7 separate regions of the Homo sapiens genome follow, and all the other regions are linked to region 1. The links are contacts of gene promoters, found by promoter capture Hi-C in blood cells and fetal thymus (Javierre and others, 2016). All regions are on one chromosome and are shown on one strand. Each heading gives the region's core, a stretch centred on a gene start or on the middle of the fragment in contact. The rest is flanking DNA. Distances are from core to core; before and after follow the strand shown.

Evidence for each region. Contacts are between HindIII fragments. The CHiCAGO score rates a contact against its expected background, and 5 or more counts as called.
Region 2: a fragment that was not itself captured here is called in contact with the fragment with the promoter of PHLDA1 in region 1 in 1 of 17 cell types (neutrophils); the score reaches 7.6 in neutrophils.
Region 3: a fragment that was not itself captured here is called in contact with the fragment with the promoter of PHLDA1 in region 1 in 1 of 17 cell types (neutrophils); the score reaches 6.3 in neutrophils.
Region 4: a fragment that was not itself captured here is called in contact with the fragment with the promoter of PHLDA1 in region 1 in 1 of 17 cell types (neutrophils); the score reaches 5.1 in neutrophils.
Region 5: a contact is called between the fragment with the promoter of GLIPR1L2 here and the fragment with the promoter of PHLDA1 in region 1, in 12 of 17 cell types (naive CD4 T cells, naive B cells, neutrophils and 9 more). The highest score is 10.2, in naive CD4 T cells.
Region 6: a contact is called between a fragment that was not itself captured here and the fragment with the promoter of PHLDA1 in region 1, in 1 of 17 cell types (total B cells). The highest score is 6.4, in total B cells.
Region 7: a contact is called between a fragment that was not itself captured here and the fragment with the promoter of PHLDA1 in region 1, in 1 of 17 cell types (naive B cells). The highest score is 5.4, in naive B cells.

What each region holds. Positions count from the first base shown.
Region 1 is chr12:76,030,526-76,033,976 of GRCh38, forward strand. It overlaps PHLDA1 (pleckstrin homology like domain family A member 1), which reads right to left and starts at 1,251. Exons shown (of 2, transcript NM_007350.3): 1 at 1-1,251. The coding sequence starts at 1,216. The coding sequence ends at 11. It overlaps PHLDA1-AS1 (PHLDA1 antisense RNA 1), which reads left to right. Exons shown (of 2, transcript NR_186034.1): 1 at 1-69; 2 at 386-853. It overlaps PHLDA1-DT (PHLDA1 divergent transcript), which reads left to right and starts at 1,288. Exons shown (of 2, transcript NR_185978.1): 1 at 1,288-2,277; 2 at 2,739-3,451. RefSeq lists a silencer at 787-936 and an enhancer at 1,157-1,406. The HindIII fragment of the contact is 8,299 bases long and covers 1-3,451 here.
Region 2 is chr12:75,309,760-75,313,210 of GRCh38, forward strand. It overlaps CAPS2 (calcyphosine 2), which reads right to left. Exons shown (of 17, transcript NM_001355024.4): 7 at 3,089-3,156. Among named protein-coding and RNA genes, the nearest start is that of CAPS2, 19 kb to the right of the region's middle. The HindIII fragment of the contact is 3,626 bases long and covers 1-3,451 here.
Region 3 is chr12:75,349,325-75,352,775 of GRCh38, forward strand. All of the region lies in intron 3 of GLIPR1L1 (GLIPR1 like 1), which reads left to right. It also overlaps a transcript of CAPS2 not described here. Among named protein-coding and RNA genes, the nearest start is that of GLIPR1L1, 16 kb to the left of the region's middle. The HindIII fragment of the contact is 5,603 bases long and covers 1-3,451 here.
Region 4 is chr12:75,369,017-75,372,467 of GRCh38, forward strand. GLIPR1L1 (GLIPR1 like 1) reads left to right here. Exons shown (of 6, transcript NM_001304964.2): 5 at 944-970; 6 at 1,069-1,544. The coding sequence ends at 1,160. It also overlaps a transcript of CAPS2 not described here. Among named protein-coding and RNA genes, the nearest start is that of GLIPR1L2, 20 kb to the right of the region's middle. The HindIII fragment of the contact is 6,828 bases long and covers 1-3,451 here.
Region 5 is chr12:75,389,286-75,392,736 of GRCh38, forward strand. It overlaps GLIPR1L2 (GLIPR1 like 2), which reads left to right and starts at 1,804. Exons shown (of 6, transcript NM_001270396.2): 1 at 1,804-2,065. The coding sequence starts at 1,832. It also overlaps a transcript of CAPS2 not described here. RefSeq lists a silencer at 1,606-1,778 and an enhancer at 1,736-1,865. The HindIII fragment of the contact is 6,589 bases long and covers 1-2,830 here.
Region 6 is chr12:75,420,928-75,424,378 of GRCh38, forward strand. It overlaps GLIPR1L2 (GLIPR1 like 2), which reads left to right. Exons shown (of 6, transcript NM_001270396.2): 4 at 1,977-2,062. Among named protein-coding and RNA genes, the nearest start is that of GLIPR1L2, 32 kb to the left of the region's middle. The HindIII fragment of the contact is 210 bases long and covers 1,726-1,935 here.
Region 7 is chr12:76,590,633-76,594,083 of GRCh38, forward strand. The region is part of intron 3 of LOC105369850 (a long non-coding RNA gene); the gene reads left to right. Among named protein-coding and RNA genes, the nearest start is that of OSBPL8, 33 kb to the left of the region's middle. The HindIII fragment of the contact is 1,394 bases long and covers 819-2,212 here.

The DNA of each region.
Region 1 (3,451 bases), core at 1-2,500:
GCTGCCCCTTTCAGGCAGAGTTGGAGGTGCTGCGGAGAAGCCGGTGCCCGTGCGGCTGCGAGTGCGGCTGTGGGTGTGGGTGCGGTATTTGGTGCGGATGCGGGTGCGGGTGAGGGTGTGGGTGCGAGTGAGGATGAGAGTGTGGATGTGGATGTGGATGCGGATACGGGTGGAGCTGCTGGGGCTGAGGCTTGGGTTGGGGCTGAGGCTGGGGTTGTGATTGGGGCTGGGGTTGCGGCTGAGGCTGAGGCTGGGGTTGGGGCTGGAGCTGCGGCTGCGGCTGCGGCTGCGAGGGGGGCTGCTGCTGGACCAGGTGCTGCTGCTTCTGCCGCGTGGATTTGACCGCCAGGATGGCCTGACGATTCTTGTACTGCACCATCTGCAGCGTGATCTCGGCGTTCCAGCCCTGGTCTTGCGGGCACCGAAAGTCGATCTCCTTGCCCTCTGCCATCACCACAGTGAAGTACATGTACTTGCCCTTGCGCTCCACACAGTCCACGGTCTTCATGTTGGAGAAGTGCAGTTCCTTGAGCTTGACCGGCGGCTCGAGGCTGGCGACAGCGGGGCCACTGGGTTGGGACGGCTCGGCCGGCCCCTGCCCGGGCTGTTGTTGCTGCTGCTGCTGCTGCTGTTGCTGCTGCTGCTGCTGGTGTTGCAGCTGCTTGGGCGGGATAAGCAGCAGCCCTTCCTCGGTGAGGATGCAACACTTTTTCTTCCAGAGCTGCAACAACCCGTCGCTGCGCTTCTCCAGCACGCCCTCCTTCAGCGCTTTGCAGCCGCTACTCTCCAGCATCCTCCCAGCATAAGAGGGGCCGCCGCTTGGCTCGGCCTCTCCGTTTCCAGCCGCGCGGGCCGGGGGCAGCAGCAGCAGCCTCGCGCCGTCCTCGCCCCAGCGGCTCCCACGGCCGCCTGCCCGGAGCGCGCAGAGGAGGCTAACACGCAGGAGGCAGAGCGGCGGCGGCGGCTCTGGGTCCCGGCAGAGGGACAGCCGCGTCCTGATGCGCCACAAGGTCCCGGAGCTCCGAGCTGCCGGGCCTCTGCCGTCCTCTTGCGAGCGCTCACTGAAGGGCACTGGCCGGGCCCCCTCGCGGCGCTTTTGAATGGGCCATCTTCCCCACCCCCGAGTGACACCCAGCGGAAAAGGCGGCTCCTGGCGCCCGCACCGCGGGGGAAAGCCCAGCTCCAAGAGGCGCTCGGCAGCCGGCGCACGCCTCATTAACTTGGGGCCTTTCCAAAGCCCGCTGCGTCCACGCCCTCCAGCGTCTCTTGCTCCGCCTCTCGCCGCCCACTTGCTTCCGCGCTCGTTCCCCTGGAAGGCGACCCGGACCCGAGCCCCGGAAACTCCTCTCCTCTACCCAGGGCGATCGCCCAAGGAGCCCTGGCTGCCTGACTACTGCCGACGCTCACAGGGCGCTGCGAGGCCATCCCCCGCGTCCCGCTTCTCCCCGGCCCGCGGGACTCTCTGCTAACAGCCTCAGAAAGTGAGGACGGGGGCGCGGAGGCGGGGGCAGCCTCCAGGCAGTGCTGCCTCTCGGTTCTTGGGAATTAGCCCGGGGGATTCGCGCTGGGCTCCGAGAGCCCGCAGAACCAGCGTCGTGTCCTGGGCGAGCTGGGAGGCCGGGGCCGAGTCCCGCGAGTCCCGCGAGTGTGCCTCCCCCGGACGCCTAGGTAAACAACTGAGCGCACAGAGGCCGAGAGGACATCGTGTCTTCCCACGCATATTCGCTCACGGTCACTAAGTAGCTCTTCTTGGAAAGAGGGCGATTGTTAAAGCAATAGTGCGACTGTCGGGCTTGCCACGGGTGGAGAGAGGCGGACCCACGTCAGGTCGCATCTCGCCTGCTTTTCTCGACCCCGACCGCAGGCGCTAACCCGTCTTCGGCTTTCTTCTTGACCCGTACGGTTTGCAACGTCTCTTAAAACAGTAACTCAACTCTCTACAAACCGGGGTAATATCCGGTGCTGAGATCCCACACTGCAAGGCGCAGTTCCAAACGTCTGGTCGGCCTCGCAGGTCCCTCTTTCCAAGGCCTAGCCAGATCTTGGTTTTGGAATCTCATTTATCTGTGACCTGGGGAATGCAATACCCCCAGCTCCCTCCTACTCCTACATTTAAACAATGCCTATAGAAGCCGCTTCCTGGGAAGTAAGGCATAACCGAGACCTAGCCTCCCGGTAGGGAAGTTCATCCGTTTAGTAAACAGCCCCAACTACGTGCGGACCCTCACGGGGATACGAAGAATTCAACCAGGGCTGGACAAGTCAGAGTGGGCCAAGGTAAGAGTTACGGCTGCTACTGTGCCCACGTTGGAACAGATAGATTAGTTCATCTGCTAGTTGTGTGGCAAGAGCAAAGAATTCAAGAGGGGAAGAGAAAGTGAGAGGAGCTTAGAGAGCTAAGCAAGAATCGAATCCTTTGTGTGTCATGGTAAGAAATTCGAACTTAATACCAAGGTAGTCAGAACAAAGGACAACTTTTATACACGAGGGCGTCCTGAATATTCATCTAAGAAACAATGTCTGATCAAACGGGACAATCCAGCCAGCAATCCTGAGTCCCACCGGATTATGCTTGGCCAGCTTTCTAGCCTTCACATTGTTAATTTATTAGCAATCTTTTCAGGAGAAAGGCAATTATTAAAATTATGTGGACTTCTAGTAAAATTATCTCGAAGATTTACAATTATGTATACCAATAACAAAAAAACTACATGTTTTCTGCTCCCCTGCCTTTGTAGGACAAGTGAGCATTCCAGAGAATTTCTACATGACCAGCTGTTCATTCTTTTAAGAGGATGACATTCTTCAGCTCATCTGGAAAGGATACTTCCTTTAAGTCTGTTATTCACAGTCTCCAAGGGCAGGTGTAGTTGGGAAAGACATTTCATATGGAAAAACAAACTTGATAGGGTAAAAAAAAAAAAAATGAGATGTAATCTGGAGGCCCAAGTCATTTTCTTAGGAGAAACTCAAATGTGTTTGGTGTTATCTAACCTTCTGCAGTTTATCAGTCTGAAACAAATGCATTCTATTCTCATTTGAAAATGTCTGAACAGCCACCAATTTTCAAAATCACCCATTTAACTAGAGACTTTAAAGCCCAGAATTTGCAGTTACGTATTTCAGAATGATTTAGTAATTTTGTGAGCAGCTCAGAGGTTAAGTCTACAATGTCTGACTACGGTGCATTATTGAAAATATCAGTAGTGTAAGGATCCCGTAGATTGGTGATAACTTTGCTCTTGTTATTTCAACAGTTACCACCAACAGTTGGTGACTTAACAAATTAAGAGCATAGTTGCCATATGCTCATATTTGGCAAATATGTCAAAATGGCCATATTTGCCAATTTTTAAGACAATAAATTCACAGAAAATGCATTACAGAAAATAACTTAAAAAAAAAAAAAACAACTTTTGGGCCAGGCATGGTGGTTCACACCTGTAATACC
Region 2 (3,451 bases), core at 491-2,990, 720 kb before region 1:
TTAAATTGAGCATTAAGATATTTTTTAAACCCCCAAATGAAAAAGGCTGGCATTTATAAAAAAGTGGCACCTATTCTATTCTCACACTTTATTTATCAGTTCTGTGTTAAATATACATACACAGAATGTTAGAGTTATAAGAAATCTTAATGTTAATTTGGCAGAAGCAAAAATCAAGACATAGAGAAGGAAAATATGAAACCTCAAACAGCAAATTAGTCACATAGCTAAACCTAAAACCAAATTCTGCTGACTGCATTTAAGTCCTCTTTTCCAGTTCATTCATTCATTTACCTATTCAACAAGTTTTACTATACAGCTACTAGACTAGGCAATGGGAGTGTAATAGTGAGCAAAACTTCCAAAGTGCTCTGCCCTCATGAAGCTCACATTCTGAAGAGGCTGAAAGATAATTAACATGATAAACAGAGAAAATACAACATGAATTACATGCCCCTATGGAAGAAAAAAAGAAATGGTAAGAAGATACAAAGTTTTGAGAAAGGCATCATAAATTTATTTATGGTCAATTTATTTATTTAAATGTATTTATGGTTTATTTATGGTAAGGCCAAAGTAGGCCTCACCAAGGTGACTTCTAAGTAAAGATATGAGCTAAAATGAGTAAGCAGACATATAAATTTCTGGGGAAAAGGCATTCCAAGAAGAGGGGAAAATAAATGCAAAGTACCTAAGACAGGAATGGAACCTGGTATGTTCCAGAACAGGGATAAGTCAAATGGCTAGAGGAGAATAGGTAAGAGGGAGAGAAGTCCAAGGTCCAAGGTCCAATGGTGGGCTTGGATAGACTGTGTTATTGGCCTGAATTTTTTAGTAATCCTGATCCATTTCCTTGCTATGGCCTCATTAAAGGTGGTATGCACTTTCTCACCCCTTGACCTTGAGCTTTTGACTTGCTTTGGTCAGTTACACACAGTTATACGACTCTGCTAATCTCAACTGAACTAAGTCATGCAAATGCGGATTGGTTGGAAATCTGTTTATCTAGGATGGTTTCAGCTAAGTAGCTCAGTGGCATTTGTAGAAGGACCTTTTTCTTGAGACTACCAGGCTAGCCAAGCAGTGTTCTTCTCTCAAAGGTAGCAGAAGCACTAAAGGGCAAATGGAAACACATGAGATCATTTAAAGCCTAAGATCAAACCTAAGACCATTGCTTTTGCTCATATACAACTGGTCAAAATAAAAAGTAAGGCCCTTCCAGCCATGGCAAGCCTTGATAGCTAACCTAAAGACACATGAGCAAAAATTACTGTTCTTTTAAGCTACTGAGTTTTGTGGTGACACATAATTAATACGTGAGCCTCGTAGGCTTCACTATGATTAAAATGAGAAATTCCTGGAAGGTTTTATCTGGCTTGCCTTTTAATGGATTAACTACGGGGTGCCGGGTTGAAAATAAACCAGTAAGAGGCAAATGCAGAAACAATGAGGCCAGTTAAGCAGTCCCTGAAATAATCCAGGAGACACACAAAATAAGTTTGAACAGGATGGTGGCAGCAGAGGGAGTAAATCTATGTTGATAGCAGGACTGAGCATGTTTGTTGACAAGCTGGATATAGTATTTGAGAGAAAGAAAGGGATCAAAATATCACCAGGATTTTAGGTCTTAGTAACATGAAGAATTGAGTTACTATGGAGGAAAATTAAAGATTTGGTCATGGAGGAAGAGAGGGCAATAAAATTTCAGACACCCAGATTGGAGAAAGTTAAATTGAAATCTTAGAGAAGCATCAGAATATAGCTGGTTTTTAAAGGCATGATACTGGATGAGATCACTTAAAAAGCAAACACAAAAGAGGTCCAATAACTGAGCTGTTGGGCACACCCACGTAGGGAAGATGAAGAAGAACCAGGAGAGATTCTGAGAAGGGGAGAAAGGTAGGAGAACAGTCACGTGTCACGTGCAGGAAGCCATGCAGGAAAAAAAAAAACAAAAAAAAAAACAAAAAAAAAAAAAAAAACCTGCCTCAAAGAAAATAAGGTTTCAAATGAGACAACTGCTGCAGATGGGTCAAGTAAACGAGAACTGAGAAATCATTAGTCTAGCAATATGGATGTCACTACTCATGGAAAAAAGTTGTTGGAGGCATGGATGGTGGAGGTGAAAACACTAAGTTCATGAGACAATGGAAGGAGGGACATGGGAGACTCTAGGTATAATTATTTCAAAGAATTTACTGAAAAACATGCATGTAGAAACAGCCACCATTATTTCTGTCATGCATTCTTTCTGCCACACAACTAAACAGTTTTTTCAAAGCTAAGTCTTACTTTTTCCTTGAAGTAGATTATTCCAACCTCTTCAGAAATTCTAGCATAGTTCCATATTATCAAGCAATTCAGCACTGCATATGTTAAAACTTTAGTTTTCTAAGGGGTTTTAAAATTCTTAACAGTCTCACAGTTCTTGAACTGCACCAAGGAACCCTGAGGTACCACAGTGAACTCACAGGGGTACTATGGGATATTTTTAATTTTTGAGGGAAACTCAGTGATACTTGACATCACTTGCACATCAAGTAAACTACTAGTTCAGCCTCAGGGTAGTTCACAGTTTCAACAAGACAGCACACTATACTCCTTCAATGATGTTACATCTTTGCAGAGCTGAGTTTTCTATAGTTGCTATGATAAAAAGCAAATATCAGGTGAAAATCAATATGGAATATAAAGTGAAAGTGGCAGCATTGTAAATGATTCTAGGATTTGAGACACTGTGCAGTGCCCATAAGATGCATACAGATCCTTAGTAAGAATAAAGTAAGGATATCTTCTTTCAATTTATGTGTATTATTTTTTTAAATGGTCATTAGTTGTTAGGAAATAAATATTTATTAAGTTGTTTAGAGAAAAATATTTAACAAATAGAACTGTTAGGTATTTCTATTCGTCTAAGAGTGCTGTGAAAAAAAATGACTAAAACACTAACGGTGCAGTAAACAGAGAAAGTTTGGGAACCTCTGAGTTAGCCACCCTTTAATTGACCAAGGATATGAATGTCATGCATGAAAATAAATTTAATGAAAACTTTCTGAATTGATTTCTATTACCAGTTGCTAATTCTCACCTAGATAAGTGGTCTATCATCACTTGCTCTGCAACAATCTGTTTCTTCTTCTCTGCAGCCACAATTTCCTGGGAAGATTAAATAAAGACAACTTCACCATCCATAAAGCAGAACCATACAATACTTAACACAAAAGTTCTAAAACATAAATTAAATATCTCTGATTTCCGTCTTAGATATAGATGGAAATAGATTACTATTATAGATTATAGATTACTTTCCATCATTACTAAATTTAAATTTCAATCATTTAATCTACAAATATCATTTATTTTCTAAGAAATAATACACTTAAATTTCAGTAAAAATCATCAGAATTTTCATGAGCTGCCTTTGCATTTTATGGAGCAGACTAAAGGAGAA
Region 3 (3,451 bases), core at 405-2,904, 680 kb before region 1:
TATAAAAGCACAGAATTTTAAGAAAAGAACAACATAACTTTAACAACAACAACAGCAAAAAAACTCAAGGAGGTTTACAGAAATACACAATACCCAGCACCTAACACTTACAATGTCTGGCATCTAATGAAATATTACCAGCCATATAAAGAAGGAAAAAAATAAGACATAAGAAGAAGCTGAATCAATAAGTTGAAATGAATGCAGAACTTACACAGATGTTATAATTAAAAGAGAAAGACATTAAAATGGTTATTATAACTGTACTCTATATTTTTAAATGTTAAGCAAAGATATGAAAAATATTAAAAACAGAGGACTACAATGTCTGAGATTTTTTAGAAGTTAAAATTAATGAAATATTAGACATTCCAGAAAAAAAGATTAATGAATTCAAAATCATAACATTAGAAATTATCCAAGACAGTGATTCAGGAGTTCAAGACTGCAGTGAGCCATGATTGCCTTGAGAAACAGAGCAAGACCCTATCTCTTTAAAAAAAGAAAAGAAAAAAATTATCCAAGATAGAATCCATAGAGGAAAAAATATCCAAAAAGATAAAAAGTGTATCAGCTGCAATACAACTTTTAGTGGAAATTGATTTCCTTACATTGGACTCCCTGCTGGCCAGCGGGGCAGGCTGGAGACTGCCTAAGAAGACCGGGTCCCGGGAGGGAGGGGTGCCCACCACCACTGTGGCTCCAGTTGGCCATTTTCCCCTGCTGCTGGTGCCAGCAAGACTGACTGGTTTGGACCAGGAGAAATTCCCCACAGCACAGCACAGCCACTGTGACAGTTTGTGGCCAGACTGCTTCTTTAAGCGAGACCCTGACACATTCCTTCTTGCCAGGCAGGGCCTACCTGAGGGATTTTCAGCACCCCCAGCCAGGGGTTTATGGACAGATCTCTGATTTCCCTGAGAGGAGCCCCTAGGAGGAGGGGCAGCCACAGTATCATGGACTGCAATCTTATCCTTTTCTGATGGCAAGCTCTGAGGAGTCTGGGTAGTCTGGACAAGGGAAATTCCTGCTTATTTAAGTGGGTCCTTTATCCTATTTCCCCTGACTGGGTGAGATCTCCCAACAGGGGTCTCCAGGCACTGCATACAGGAGCATTCTGGCGGGCATCAGGTCAATGCCCCTCTGGGACAGAATGCCCAGTGGAAAGATCAGGCTGCCATCTTTGCTGTTCTGCCACCTCCACTGGTGATACTTCCAGGTGTCAGAGGGACCCAGGTGAACAGGGTCTGGAGTAGGCCCCCAGGAAACCACAGCAGCCCTACAGAAAAGGGGCCTTACTGCTAAAAGAACAAACAGAAAGCAACAACAGCATCAATAAAAAAAGACCACAAAAACCCCATCCAAAGGTCAGCAGATTCAAAGATCAAAGGTAGATAAACCCTTGAAGATGAGAAAGAATCAACGCAAAAATGCTGAAAACTCAAAAAGCCAGAGTGTCTCTTCAGCTGCAAATGATCACAACACATCTCCAGCAAGGGCACAGAACTGGGATGAGGCTGAGATGGACGAATTGACAAAAATAGGGTTCAGAAGATGCATAATAATGAACTTCACTGAGCTAAAGGAGTATATTCTAACACATTGCGAAGAAGCTAAGAACCATGATAAAATATTACAGGAGCTGTTAACCAGAATAACCAGTTTAGAGAGGAACATAAATGAACTGATGGAGCTGTAAAACACAACACAAGAACTTCACAATGCAATCACAAGTATCAATATCCAAACAGACCAAGTGGAAGAAAGGATATCAGAGCTTGAAGACTATCTTGCTGAAATAAGGCAGGCAGACAAGATTAGAGAAAAAAGGAACAAACAAAACCTGTGAGAACTATGAGATTATGTAAGATTGAACCTATGACTGATTGGGGTACCTGAAATAAATGGGGAGAAAGAACTGAGTTGGAAAACACACTTCAGGATATCATCCAGGAGAACTTCCTCAACCTAGCAAGAAAGGTCAACATTCAAATTCAGGAAATCCAGAGAACCCCCGTAAGATACTCCATGAGAAGATCAACCCCAAGACACATAATCATCAGATTCTCCAAGGTCAAAGTGAAGGAGACAATGTTAAGGGCAGCCAGAGAGAAAGGCCAGGCCACCTACAAAGGGAAGCCCATCAGACTAACAGCAGACCTCTCAGCAGAAATCCTAAAAACCAGAAGAGATTGGGAACAATATTTAACACTCTGTTTTGTTTTGTTTTTTTTTTTTTTGAGATGGAGTCCCACTCTGTCACCCAAGGTGGAGTGTACTGGTGTGATCTTGACTTACTACCACCTCCACCTCCCAGGTTCAAGTGATTCTCCTGCCTCAGCCTCCTGAGTAGCTGGGATTAGAGGCGCTCCCCACCACACCCAGCTAATTTTTGTATTTTTAGTACAGACGGGGTTTTGCCATGTTGGCCAGCCTGGTCTCGAACTCCTGACCTCAGGTGATCCACCCTCCTTGGCCTCCCAAAGTGCTGGGATTACAGGCATGAGCCATCGTGCTGGCCCAATATTTAACATTCTTAAAGAAAAAAATTTTCAGTCTAGAATTTCATATCCAGCCAAACAACATCATAAGCGAAGGAGAAATGAGATTTTTTTTCAGACAAGCAAATGCTGAGGGAATTCATCACCACCAGGCCTGCCTTGCAAGAGCTCCTGAAGGAAGCACTAAATATGGAAAGGAAAAATGGTTACCAGTCACTACAAAAAACATGCTGAAGTACACAAACCAACAACACTATGAAGCAACTATATAAATCAGTCTGCAAAATAACCAGCTAGCATCATGATGACAGGATCAAATTCACATATAACTATACTAACGTTAAATGTAAATGGCCTAAAGGCCCCATATAAAAGGCACAGAATGGTAAGCTGGATAAAGAGCCAACATCCATCAGTGAGCTGCATTCAAGAGACCCATCTCACATGCAAAGACATACATAGACTCAAAGGGATGGAGGAAAATTTACCAAGCAAATGGAAAACAGAAAAAAGCAGAGGTTGAAATCCTAGTTTCTGATAAAACAAACTTTAAACCAACAAAGATCAAAAAAGACAAAGAAGGGCATTACATAATGGTAAAGTAATCAATTCAACAAGAAGAGCTAACTGTCCTAAATATATATGCACCCAATACAGGAGCACCCAGATTCATAAAACAAGTTCTTAGAGACCTACAAAGTGACTTAGACTCCCACACAATAATAGTGGAAGATTTTAACACCCCACTGTCAATATTAGCCAGATGACAGAGACAGAATATTAACAAAAATATCCTGAAGTTGAACTCAGCTCTGGATCAAGTGGACCTGACAGTTATCTGCAGAACTCTCCACCCCAAAACAACAGAATATACATTCTTCTCAGTGCCACAAGGCACTTACTCTAAAACTGCACATAATTGGAAGTAAATCACTCCTCAGCAAATGCAA
Region 4 (3,451 bases), core at 534-3,033, 660 kb before region 1:
TTTTGTTGATCAATCTTTATCAGAAAATATATTTTAGCTTGGTTGGCTTCTTATTTGAGAGATACGCAATATAGCATAACAGTTATATATGTAGACCTTGGAGTCAGATGGTTTAACTCAAGAGGTGATTAAGCGTATTAAATATGATTAAATACACAAAATTATTTGAGCCTCTCAAAAAGTAATTTTTCAATACATTTTAGCTATTACTATAATTCAGTTCCAAATTTTCTATCATTTAACCCAGTTTATATTTTGTAGCATTCATCGCTGACATTATCATTTTTACTCATCTTATTTATTTATTTAATTTTAAAATTGAGTATAGATTTTTCTCTCCTCATTTTTCCACAATAAAAGGGATTTTATTTTTTGCTGGTAACCATTATATCCAAAGCTAGAATCATGCTGAATACGTAGTAGAAGGTCAAAAAAATTAATTAATTATTTTTTTAAGTAGATTATTTCCTAATGAAGTGCTGGATGCTATTAGAATGGTAAACTGGGGAGGAAAGTTTGATGTGGAAAAGACATCGAGAAATATTTGGAGTAAGGACCATTACAGAAATGAATGAGATTGTTAATGAGTTCTGCATACAAAAAATTCAACATGAAGAAATTACGTTTCTTCAGGGACGTGAATTGGGAATGAAAGAGTGGGAAAAATAAAGTTAACTACTTTATAGCTTTTTCTGGTTTTGACTTTTGTGCCTTCAACACTCAGAGGTGTTTTAGAAATATTTGTTGACATAACACTGTTGGTAGGAAGCATCGTAAAGAGTTTTAAGTACTGTAGGATTGAGTAGGAAAGTTTCATTTTCTTGTTAAAAAGTCAAACTAATTTTTGTTAGTTGATTGTCTTATTCTAAAAGCCATAAAAGCAAAGAAATATGTTTTCTTGTTTTATAACATTTTATAATATTAACTTTAATTTTTACTTTAGGGACTCCACAACTTATTATACCTAACCGTATGTATCAAAATATTTTAGTATTAATTAAATTATTTCCTCCCGTTGAAAATCAATTGAACTCTTAACTATTCTGGTTTTGTTTTTGTTTTTGACAGAAAATCCATTTCTGAAGCCAACGGGGAGAGCACCTCAGCAGACAGCCTTTAATCCATTCAGCTTAGGTTTTCTTCTTCTGAGAATCTTTTAATGTCATTTATATACAAAAGAAATTCTCAAATGTTAAAATAAAGGAATAGTTTATTGCTTAATATAACTTATCATCACTTTGCTTCTTTACTGAATCTTCTACACTCTTGCCTGATACCTAAATTTAATGTTTGTTTTTAACTCAAAAAATGTACTGTAGTATGGAAAATGGATAGCAGTAGAATAAAGTCTTAAGATTATTTTTTAATTACAAATCCATATGTGTATCAAAAGTGTTCCACTCTTTAATTTTCTAATGAGAATGGATTATCATTTTAGTTATAGTACATTTAGAGAACTAAAGACTTTTCACATATCAAATAGTTTCCTTAGATACCAATAGTTTCCTTTATGAATACCATCAACATCATTCAGAAACAAAATGTTACTGAGGAAAGTTTTTTCAGATAGCATGTAATGTTATACATTATGGCCATAATCAATGGTTGGGGAATAAATCAATGAATTAAACTCAAAAAGTTAAATTAACTAAATTTTCAACCTTTAAAAAGTAAATATATGTTCTGCAAATTAAAGTTGCACTCTTCTAGGAGATTTATTTTTAAATATGCCCCACAGAAAATAACAGGATGCTAACAGCATATCTTTTAAAAGCCATATAAAATTAGTATAGGTAACAACATTTCTACAAACCAGATAATTATTCAGTACTGGCATTTCTTTTTTCTGAAGGAAAAAAACATAATATTTAATAAATTCAGTTTTCAAAATCATCAATGCTGAATTGTTGACTCCTGTGGAGTAAATTATCTGGATGTTTTTCTTCTCAACTAAGGCAAGCTCCAGCTTCCCTCAGCTATTGCATTAGGGCTCTCTAAAGGGACAGAACTACTAGGTTATATGCATGTATAAATGAGAATTTATTAAGGAGAATTGACTCACATGATCTATAGGTGAAGTCCCATCTGTAAGTTGAGAAGCAAGGAAGCCAGCAGTAGCTCAGTCCAAGTTTCAAAATCTCAAAAGTCGGGAAGCCGACAATTCAGCCTTCAGTGTGTGGCTGAAGGCCTGAGAGCACCTGGTAAACCACTGATGTAAATCCGAGAGTCCAAAAGACGAAGAACCTGGAGTCTGATGTTTGAGGGCAGGAAGCATCCAGCACACGAGAAAGATGAAGGCTGGAAGATTCAGCAAGTCGGCTCTTCCATCTTCTCCTGCCTGGTTTATTCTAGCTGGCAGCCGATTGGATGTTGCCCACCCACATTGAGGTGGGTCTGCTTTTCCCAGTTCACTGCTCTCCTTTGGCAATACTCTCACAGACACACCCAGGAACAATACTTTGCATCCTTCAATAAAGTTGACAATATTAACCATCACAAGTCCACCCCTTGTCTACTTGAAAAATACACATCTCCTGAAATCATATATAATCTCCAAATAAAGACAATAATAAGGTTATAATTATGTCTAATATAATACAGCTATCCTTTGTACAACCGGAAGTGCTCTAATCATTAACCTAAATGTTATTACATAAAGTTAAGAACACTTAAATGTCTAAATGAAGTCAGTAAATCTTATGTCACATGATAAAGGAAAAATAGAGGGAATAAAATGAAGATACTTTCTTAGTACAAGTGTATACATGCACAAACATATTCTTAACAAAATAAGGAGAAAATACTTATGACAATTACAGTCCTCGTTTCTGCAACTGGTCACGTGGTTGTATTTATGACTACCTGTTGTTAGTTTCCCATTGACCTTAATCACAGGCATGGCAAAACTAAGAAACGCTCTATGGAGTCTCCTGTATTCCATACATACTCTTCCTTACCTCCATTAAGGAGTAGTAGGTTGATTTCATCTTTTTTGTTTGTTTGTTTGTTGTTTCTTTTTTGAGACGGAGTCTCTGTCGCCCAGGCTGGAGTGCAGTGGCACGATCTTGGCTCACTGCAACCTCCGCCTGCTGGGTTCAAGTAATTCTCCTGCCTCAGCCTTCCGAGTAGCTGGGATTACAGGTGCCCATCACTGCACCCAGCTAATTTTTGTATTTTTAGTAGATGGGGTTTCACCATGTTGGCCAGGCTGGTCTTAAAGTCCTGACCTCAGGTGATCCACCTGCCTCAGCTTCCCAAAGTGCTGGAATTACAGGTGTGAGCCACCACGCCCAACCTGATTTCATCTTGATAGTTTAAGTCAATCACCCCAGCCAACACTATAACTCTTGTTAGCCTGTTGACTTAGAGGTAGGAGGAGCCCAGAGTAACCAGGTGGCAATCCTAACCTCCAGTTTAATAGAATACTTCTTGTATCTCCTGGTGGCAGCAT
Region 5 (3,451 bases), core at 554-3,053, 640 kb before region 1:
CATGTCTAGCTTGTTCAGCATTTGAGCCTTTAGCTGGGCTGTGACACACAGGAAGTACCAAGGAAATATTTATTGAATGAGATGTCTAGCAGTGGAATGGGCTTCCCTGTTGGTCTAATTATTTAAGAAAAGGATGTGATGATCACCTGTCAGTGATGTTCCGGAGAGTATACCTAACACAGGAGGCTAGCAATAGTGGCTAAAATTTCTTCCAAATCTAAGATTGCATTATTCTATTTATACTTTTTCTTTAGCATTTTTTGCAGTCTAACAACAGTACCACCATAATAAAAGAATTGCATCTTTCAGCACTTGCCACCTTCACCCTTAAATAGGTTCTAGCCATACTAAAATACTTCTAGCGTTTAGGATCTTCCTCTCCTTAGGCACATTACATGCTTTTCCCTTTGTTTAGAATGCTATCTTAGACTTGTCTGTTTCACTTTCTGTATACAATTTCCAGAAAGGCTTCCCTGCTCCTCCACAAGAGTACCAAGCAATAGAATTTTGGCTTTGTATTTATCACGTTTTAAATACTGCCTGATTGCTAATTCACTAAATTGTAAGCTGCTTGAAAGCTGGATCTGTGTCTTGTCTACTGATCTTTCTCAATCACTTAAAACTTACTACTATGCAGTCATAGTAGTAAGTATTCAAGGGCATAAATGAAACCATCTTACATAGGTCTATTGTTTTTCAATTGTGTGCATCACAGACAATTTTTAAAAGCACTTTTCTTTTTATAAATGTTTGGCTAACCTGTTACAATGTTTTGTAGTAAAATTCTCTCCCAATGTCAATTTTCCATATCTGCTTAATGCTATTAAGCACAATATGTAATATGCAAACGTGTATTCCAAAACTAATACTTGCTTTTTTTCCATGCTTAGAATTTAAAGTCTTCAAAGCAAGTTGGTTTTGTTTTGTTTTGTTTTTGAGGAAAATGTTTGGAGGTAAACAGATCAGACCAAAATCAGCTAGATATTAGCCAATTTTGTCTGGAACAAAAAAAGAAAACAAAAGAGTTCGTTCTTACTGTGAATGCCACAATTAGTGAAAAAGATGAATCTTGATATTCCGGGCTGTCTGAATTGTGCTGATGAGAGAAGAAGTAGAAATGTTTTAACCTTTGAAGAGTTTGGTGATCCCTACTCTCCCTTCACTCCCATTTATTTTGTGGTTTCCCACAAAGGTTCATTTAAAAACTGAAAAAAATCTCATCAATTAAGTTGGCCTTAAGAACTTCTTTGGCCTTAAGAACTAGCAATATTTCTGTATTCCATTCTGTCCCTGAGGAAAATAAAAGGCAGGCCCTGCACCAAATTTCCAACTCAACAGGTAATGGGGAAAAAAAATTTAATTGAATTTGTATCTGTATCGCAGAAAAATCATTTCACCTGGCACAATTAGAAGGTTCCTCAGACCTGTTACTCAGCAATTGGCATTTACCATACAAACTGATGACTCATTAATAACGACATATCATTCAGTGTCAGAAATCAATTCGGGATAACATTTCACTACATTAGTTTAGTGAAAAGGGCTTACTCACGTAACACAAGTCTTTCTTTAGTTTGTCAGACATCTATTACCAGCTTTCTTCACTCTGCAGGTCTAGCTTTCCCCTCCTCTCCCCCTCCCCTACCCACTCTCCCCTCCCTCTTCTCTCCTCCCTCCTCCTTACCCCCTCCTCCCTCCTTTGTTTTTCCCTCCTCCCTCCTCCCTTTCTCCTTCCGGGAGGCGGGACAAGGCTTGCTTGCGTCCTCCGTAGATTGGCAGGTCACTGGGACGGCCAGCGCGTGCGCACTGGCCTGTCAGCGGCCGGTGGACCATGGAGGCCGCAAGGCCCTTCGCCCGGGAGTGGAGGGCCCAGTCCCTACCCCTGGCAGTAGGGGGCGTTTTGAAGCTGCGGCTCTGTGAGCTGTGGCTACTGCTACTGGGTTCTAGTTTGAACGCCAGATTTTTGCCAGACGAGGAGGACGTAGACTTTATCAACGAGTACGTGAACCTCCACAATGAGCTGCGGGGCGACGTCATTCCCCGAGGGTCTAACTTGCGCTTCATGGTGAGGCCGGAAGGCGGTTTGCCGACCCTTCCACTACCGTTGCCACAACGCCTCCCTGGATCTCGGGTAGTTGGGGCCACTGCTCTGAGGCTGAAGGATCGCGGAGAACCGCACTTTTAGCTTGGTTTTTAAAGTACACGTGAAGTTTACACAGAGAAAAACTGCGGACACTCTAACACATGCTTATTACCATGATATTACACAGGGCCAGGACTAAGGTGATGGAGGCACTGGCCTGAAGTGCAGATTTTAAGGGGGCGCCAATTCAAGAAAATGATATTTTAATGCAACGGGTTTTTAAAAATTAAAAATCAGTGCAAAAATATCAATATCAAGGGTAAAGAAAATGTTAAAAAATTTAACAAAGACAGGTTCCTTGGGTCTGGATTAGGGAAAAACAAGTGCGACACTCTCAGGGTGGTGCAAATCAAGATGAGATTCTGTTTGTATTTGAAATTTTTATTTTTAGCTTTTTCCATCATCGATGTCACATTAGCTTTGCCTTTTAAAAATGTTTGTTATCTTGATTTTTTTTTTTTGTGCCCATTCCAAATTTGGCTCCTAAGGAAGTGTCTCAGTTTCCTCACCCTAGTCTTGACCCTGATTTTGCCTTACCTTACAATGCGGTTCTTGCTTTCCCCCTCTTTTACACCCTATAGTCATTTAACAACTCAACTATTCCCTGGTTGCTATTGAGTTTTCCTGACTGTCATTAAAATGACTGAAAATCCGGCAAATAAATAACTGTCCTCTTAGGGAATTAGAAGCTTCAAACTTATAAATTATATTGCAAGGACTACTTTCCTAGACATGTCTTTTCTTCCTTCAGCATTAGTTCTTAGCACAAATTTCAGAAATGGGATAAATAAATTAAGGGTATGATATTTTTTATTAATTTAACACATAGCAATTGCTATGCTAAAGGGTAGTGCCAAATTTAGCAAATACCAGCTGTTCTGTTTTCACCACATCCTCACTGATTTGGACATGTTCAATTACTTGCTAAATGAATAAATTACAAAAATGGTCATTTGTTTTAATGTTGATTTTAAAATACTATTTTGATAGGACATACTTGAGTTCTTTCTTCGTCATTTCCTTTACCTTTTATATTGTCAGCATTTCCATGTCAGATTATATGCTGTCTTATAGAACTATGCTAGCATTTGGTTCTATCTGCTGAAGATACTTTTTTCTAAGCCAATTCTTTTTCTTTTGAATTCAATTATAGAGTTTGGGGATATTTGGGAGTTTCAACTAATTTCCCATTTTTTGTGACTAATTCTGTTTCTTCCCAATTTGAAGATTATCCTTACTCCTGAAAATTAATAAACACATAATACTTTCTAATACAACTTTTCATAGGTTTTCTATCTCATCTCTAAA
Region 6 (3,451 bases), core at 581-3,080, 610 kb before region 1:
TGTATGCATTATTATATTTGTTTATTTGCCTTCCCACAGTTTTTCCACACTACAGATATCAGACATTATGATCTTGGGGTGATGGGACTATGCTCTAGTTCTCAAAGGCAGTTTTTATAGTGAGTAGCTTTTTACTTAGGTATAAGGACAGAGGTCCCCCATCCTTGGGACCTTAGGAGACAATACATCTGCTTTTGTGTTGGAGGCATCTGTTTTGGTGAAAAGGGGTTGGGACAGGAAAAATAGACCAGGGTGTAGCTAAAGGTGACTAGATCAACTCTTGAGTTTCTGCTCTGGCTGGGTTCTAAACAAAATGCATTTCTTTCTTGAAATAGTTGGATAATAGAACAGTGAAATTGAAGAAGTGATATATGATCTACAAATAACCACAAACCTCTGGATGTTCCTGATAGACTTGAATGCTTACAATTCAAGGGTATCAGATGCCTTATTGGGTATCACCCAAACTCTCTGATTAAATAAGATATATCTGAGAAATGTGATACTCAGGTTTTTGAATATATATTTCTTAGGCTTGGCCATTCTTCTAGAAGGCCTAACCAAGGACTTAAATAATGAATGTTTGTTTTTATAGCTCCCAATTATATACCAGGTAAATAGGCAATACTGATTAAATTACCAGGATTAATGATGCTGCCCCCACTCAAATGTATCTTTTCCCTACTTGTTTTTTCTACCTTTCTTATCCTAGATCATTTATTTAAATTTCCCAATTTAAAAGTACTTTAGGGCCTTTTTTCTCATTTAGCTGTAGGCAATTGATGTAATTATTTCTTCTCTCTTTAGCTCTGTACAATGGGTTAAATCAACTTTGTAAACTCCCATTTATATTTATTTGCTTCTTTATAAATTTATGTGTTTTTATATATACCCCCAAAATAATTGATGCAGATGAGTCTTTGGGACACAAGCATTTCAGAATTTTGTAAACTCTACAGATACTTAATATATCATTTCTATGAAACTTTTTATGTATTTGGGCCAACCAGGAAGCAATTAATTATAAAAAATTCTATATCATTTATTTTTAAATTTTATTTCTTTATTTCTTTATTTATTTTAGAGACAGAGCCTTGCTCTGTTGCCCAGGCTAGAGTGCAGTGGCACAGTCAGCTCACTGCAGCCTCAAACTCCTGGACTCAACTGATCCTCCCTCCTCAGTATCCCGAGTAGCTGGGACTACAGGCACGCACCATGCCCGGCTAATTAAAAAAATATATCTTTTTGAAGAGACGAGGTCTTGCTATGTTACCCAGGCTGGTCTCGAACTCCTGGTCTCAAGAGATTATCCCACCTTGGCCTCCCAAAGCACCAGCATTACAGGTGGGGAAGCTACCCCACCCAGCCTACATCATTCTTTTTTTTTTTTTTTTGAGACAGAGTCTCACTCTGTTGCCCAGGCTGGAGTGCAGTGGCCCATCTCAGCTTACTGCAAGCTCCGCCTCCTGGGTTCACGCCATTCTCCTGCCTCAGCCTCCCGAGTAGCTGGGACTACAGGCACCTGCCACCGCACCTGGCTAATTTTTTGTATTTTTGGTAGAGACAGGGTTTCACCGTGTTAGCCAGGATGGTCTCGATCTCCTGACATTGTGATCTGCCTGCCTCAGCCTCCCAAAGTGCTGGGATTACGGGCATGAGCCACCGCGCCCGGTCTACATCATTCATTTTTAAAGGATACATTTTGCTATAAACTAAAATGAAAGAAGCTTTAAAACCGATTCTTATATTTAATTATAATACTTTGTTTCTAGGGCATGGGAATTCGTTTCAGAAAAGACCGTTTCCTAGGGGAGAACAAAAGGGAAACATTGAATCTCTAATTAAAGTATTTCCTTAAGTCCAGTTTCTTAACCCGCCTTTTTAACCTGATTAAAAATTAGTAACTATATTATTTAAATTACATGTAAAAATGGAAGCTTATTCTAACTAAATGTTTTCTGCTTTTTTGTTTGTAGAGGAACACTGACGAGAAGACCTTATGAACCAGGAATATTTTGTACTCGATGTGGCAGACGTGACAAATGCACAGATTTTCTATGCAGTAAGATAAAGAAAATAAACATGAAAAAAATGCATAATGGATTGGACAAGAAAAATAAGCGATTGAACACTAGTTTTTTATGGTCATGTTAATATTATTCCTTTGATCAGAATGCTACTATTATGTTATCAAAGGATGGTTGACACAGTATCATCTTTAGATTTTTCTAAACTGCAGAGCTTTTTCTGTTCTATCTTAACCCTATTCCTTCCCCTGAGGACATACCAGAGTGTCAGAAAGAAAGAATGAGAACTAACAGTTATACCCTTAAAAAGCTTCACAGTTTATGCCCAAACAGCAGCCTGTTTGATAATAACTGCTTTAAAGGATAGTATATTCCAAAATATTTATGAAGTAGCATATATTTAATACCCTTTTCTTTTAGTTTTTCCTCCAAAAAGCTGAAATCTCCAAATATTTCAAAAGTAAAAAGTAGAAAATATGTTTGATTACATTTTTCTTTTAGTTTTTCCAAACATGAGAGAATATACTCCAAAAGTATAACTGTAGCTAAAATATACAATGCTTAGAGGAATATGGTAGGAGATAAATTTGGATAATAAGTAAATAGCATATTATGTTGTTTTTTAATTATTATACTTTAAGTTCTGGGGTACCTGTGCAGAACGTGCAGGTTTGTTACATAGGTATATACATGCCATGGTGGTTTGCTGCACCCATGAACCCATCATCTACATTAGATATTTCTCCTAAGCTATTCCTCCCCTAGCCCTGACCCCCTGACAGGCCCCAGTGTGTGATGTTCTTCTCCCTGTGTCCATGTGTTCTCATTGTTCAACTCCCACTTATGAGTGAGAACATGCAGTGTTTGGTTTTCTGTTCTTGTGATAGTTTGCTGAGAATGATGGTTTGCAGCTTCATCCATGTCCCTGAAAAGGAAATGAACTCATCCTTTTTTATGGCTGCATAGTATTCCATGGTGTATATGTGCCACACTTTCTTTATCCAGTCTATCATTGATGGGCATTTGGGTTGGTTCCAAGTATTTGCTATTGTGAACAGTGCTGCAATAAACATATGTTTGCAGGTGTCTTTATGGTAGAATGATTTATAATTCTTTGGGTATGTACCCAGTAATGGGATTACTGGGCCAAATAGTATTTTTGGTTCAAGATCCTTGAGGAATCCCCACACTGTCTTCCACAATGGTTGAACTAGTTTACACTCCCACCTACAGTGTAAAAGTGTTCCTATTTCTCCACATCCTCTCCAGCATCTGTTGGTTCCTGACTTTTTAATGATCACTGTTCTAACTGGCATGAGATGGTATCTCATTGTGGTTTTGATTTGCATTTCTCTAATGACCAGTGATGATGAACTTTTTTTCTTGTTTGTTGGATGCATAAATGTCTTCTTTTGAGAAGTGTC
Region 7 (3,451 bases), core at 266-2,765, 560 kb after region 1:
AAGTAGAAAACCCAACTAAGGTGTATCTGGACTCCTGACCTACAGAAAGAGAGATAGTAAATGTGTGTTATTTTAATGTGTTCAACTTGTGTTAATTTGTTACATCGAATTGGAAAACTAATAGAGATTTTGGTGCCTAGAGGTAGAATGCTACTGTAATAAATATGTAAAAATATGTCTGTGGCTTTGAAACTGATCAGTGGACAGAGACTAGAAGAATGCTTGAAAAGTATGATAGACAAATCCCAAATCACTGCGAACAAACTCTCAGTAGAAATGTGGATATTGAAGACTGCTGTTGAGGACTCAGAAGGAAGTAAGGAACATGCTATAGGAAACTGGAAGAAGGGAGATCCTTGTTATGTACTGGCGTAAAGCTTAGTGAAATTATTTCTTGCAATTACGTTGAAAGCAGAACTTGTAAATGGATGAATTTGGTTATATAGTTAAGGAGATTTCCAAGCAAAGTGTTGAAGGGGACAACTGGTTTCTTCTTGCTACTTACAGGAAAATTCAAGAAAAGAGACAAATTGAGAGAAGAACTATTAAGCAAAAAGGAATCAGGACTTGATAATTTAAAAAATCCTCATCTTCCCCAGATGGCAAAAAATATTAACAGTTGGAGATGGCTTTTGGGCACTGTCAGAAAAGCCTACTCTAGAGAAAATGCACTTGAAGTTACTCTATAATCTTTTTTAAAGCCCCCAAAAGATCAAAGGTCAGAGTACTCAGGGGTATTTCAAGATACGGCCCTTAGATTTGAAAAGATCTAAGGGTATGCCTCAGATCCTCTCAATCACACTATTGAGCCTCTAGGAAGCTTAAAGGAGATGGAATTATTTTTGAAACAATCTGTAGATGTGGCCTTTGTCTGATAAGAGTGAATGCCACTGAAATACAGAAAGAACCACAACATTCTTGAGAAAATTATTTCTGCAGAAACAGTGCCAACTTGGAATAAGACAGACAGAAAGACTAGAAAATGAAAAGAGGCTGTCAGACCTCCAAAATTTTACTGGCAGAAAGCAGGCTGATAAAACTACTCATCTGCAAACACATGCTACCTTCCATGAAAAAGGAAGAATGACTCAGATGGTGGAACCAAGAACCCAGAAAGCAGAGCCAAGAGCCATGAAGAATCATTCCCAAGCCTAGAAACTTAATTAAGGAACTTCCAATAAATCCAGTTGTATTTCAAAACTGCTATAGACTAGTGACTCCTTTTTACTACCCATTTCCCCTATTTTTAAACTGGAATGTCTATAGCTATTATCCTGTGTCTGTCCCACCATTGTATGTTGGGTGTGTTGGAGGCAGATAACTCATTTCCTTGGTTTCAGAGGTCCATAGTTAGAGAATAATTGTGTCCAGGAGCTTTACTTAACAGGTTATACGTAGGAGGCTCATCTGCACCTGGACTTGATTCACATGATGAAATTTTAGAATTTGAGCTGATGCTATAATGAATGAAACTCTTGGGAACTGATATGGTTTGTCTCTGTGTCCCCACCCAAATCTCATCTTGAATTGTACTCCCACAATTCCCATGGGTTGTGGGAGGGGCCCTGGTGGGAGATAATTTGAATTATGGGGGAGGTTCCCCCATACTGTTCTCATGGTAGCAAATAAGTCTCACGATATCTGATGGTTTTATCAGGGGTTTTATCAGGGGTTTCCACTTCTGCATCTTCTTCATTTTCTCTTGCCGCCGCCATGTAAGAAGTACCTTTCACCTCTCAGCATGATTCTGAGGCCTCCCCAGCCATGTAAGTCCAATTAAACCTCTTTTTCTTCCCAGTCTCAGGTATGTCTTTATCAGCAGTGTGAAAACGGACTAATACAGGAACCTTGGAAGGGGAGAAACCATATATTTCATATGGGAGGGCCTGAGGAAAGACTGGCAGACAGAACCTAGGCTGATTCTCCAATGACCCCCACTTTCTGATATCAATGCCCCTGTTAATTACATCCCATGAATATGGGAGGAATCTGTGAAGCATCTAACTTATAGAATATGGCAAAGGTGACAGAATGGCATTCCTATGATAACATTATGTTATGTAAGACTTCATATTGCTAGTAGACTCTTCTGCTGGCCATGAAGAAGCAAACTGCTATGTTGCTGCCTATGGAGTAGACCACATGGCAGGCAACTTGAATGGACTCTAGGAGCTAATGGCATCCTCCAGCTGACAGCCAACCAGCACACTGAAGCTTTCAGTCCTATATCCTCAATGAAATAAATTCGTTCGGCAAACCATATGAGCTTGGGAGCAGATGAGCTTCCCAATGAGAACACAGCCCACCTGATGCATTGACTCTAGCCTGGAGAGACCTGGAAGCAGAAAATCCAAATAAGCTGTGTCTGTACTCTTGACCACAGAAACTGGGATATAATACATGTTATTGTTTTAGGCTGCTAGATTTGGTAACTTGTTATCCAGCAATAGATTACAAGTGCAGTCAAAGATTGTCCCAGAGAGTGTTAACTTCTTTACTCTTCCAGGTTGTACATGCCTAAGCGCAGAGTGGGTTCTCATTGGCATCCATGCCATATCATCAGAGCAGCACAGGTTTTGAAATGATAAATATGTGGTACAGTTGCACAAAACTGGTTGCCATAGCAATAGTTGGTATAAAAGGTAGGCTGAAAGGATGTGAAAAAGATTATTCTAGTTTGTCTCATCCTGGCTACCATTTCAGGGAGTCTGTGTTGCTTGACTGGGTGGGGGCAACCAGATCATCATCTCTGAAGGGTCTGAACTCTAATTCTTGCTCTTCAGTGAGTCTTAATTATTACAATTACCCATTTATACTTATCACCAGACATGGAGCACGAAGAAATAACTCAGTGAATCCTATGTGTTCCATGCATCGGACTTCCTGTCTCCATTGGGTAGCAGCAACTCTATTTCATATGGGTAATCAAGGTCAGTTATCACCACCAAGATAGTAAGTGTTTTCATTGATGGTCCACTGACACAAGTGATCTAAAATGATCATGTGATAGTTATAGTTTCCAGTTCAATGGAGACTTCATGTGTGCCCTCATAGAAGTCCCCTTCATACCAAACAAGTGCTTCTAATCCTGAAAAGCCTAAGAATGCACAGATAGGAAGCCCAAATTCTGCAAAGGGGTCAATGGGAGTGTTGGTGAGAGCCATTCCTACAACCACCCTTTGGTTTCTGGACCTGTATATTCTGGCTATTGGAAACACACCACTAGAAATCAGCTATACTTTTTTTTTTTTTTTTTTTTTTTTTGAGATGGAGTCTCACTCTGTCACTTAGGCCGGAGTGCAGTGGTGCAATCTCAGCTCACTGCAGCCTACACCTCCCGGGTTCCAGCGATTCTCCTGCCTCAGCCTCCTGGGTAGCTGGGATTACAAGCACACGCCACCGCACCCAGCTAATTTTTGTATTTTTAGTAGAGAAAAGGTTTCACCATGTT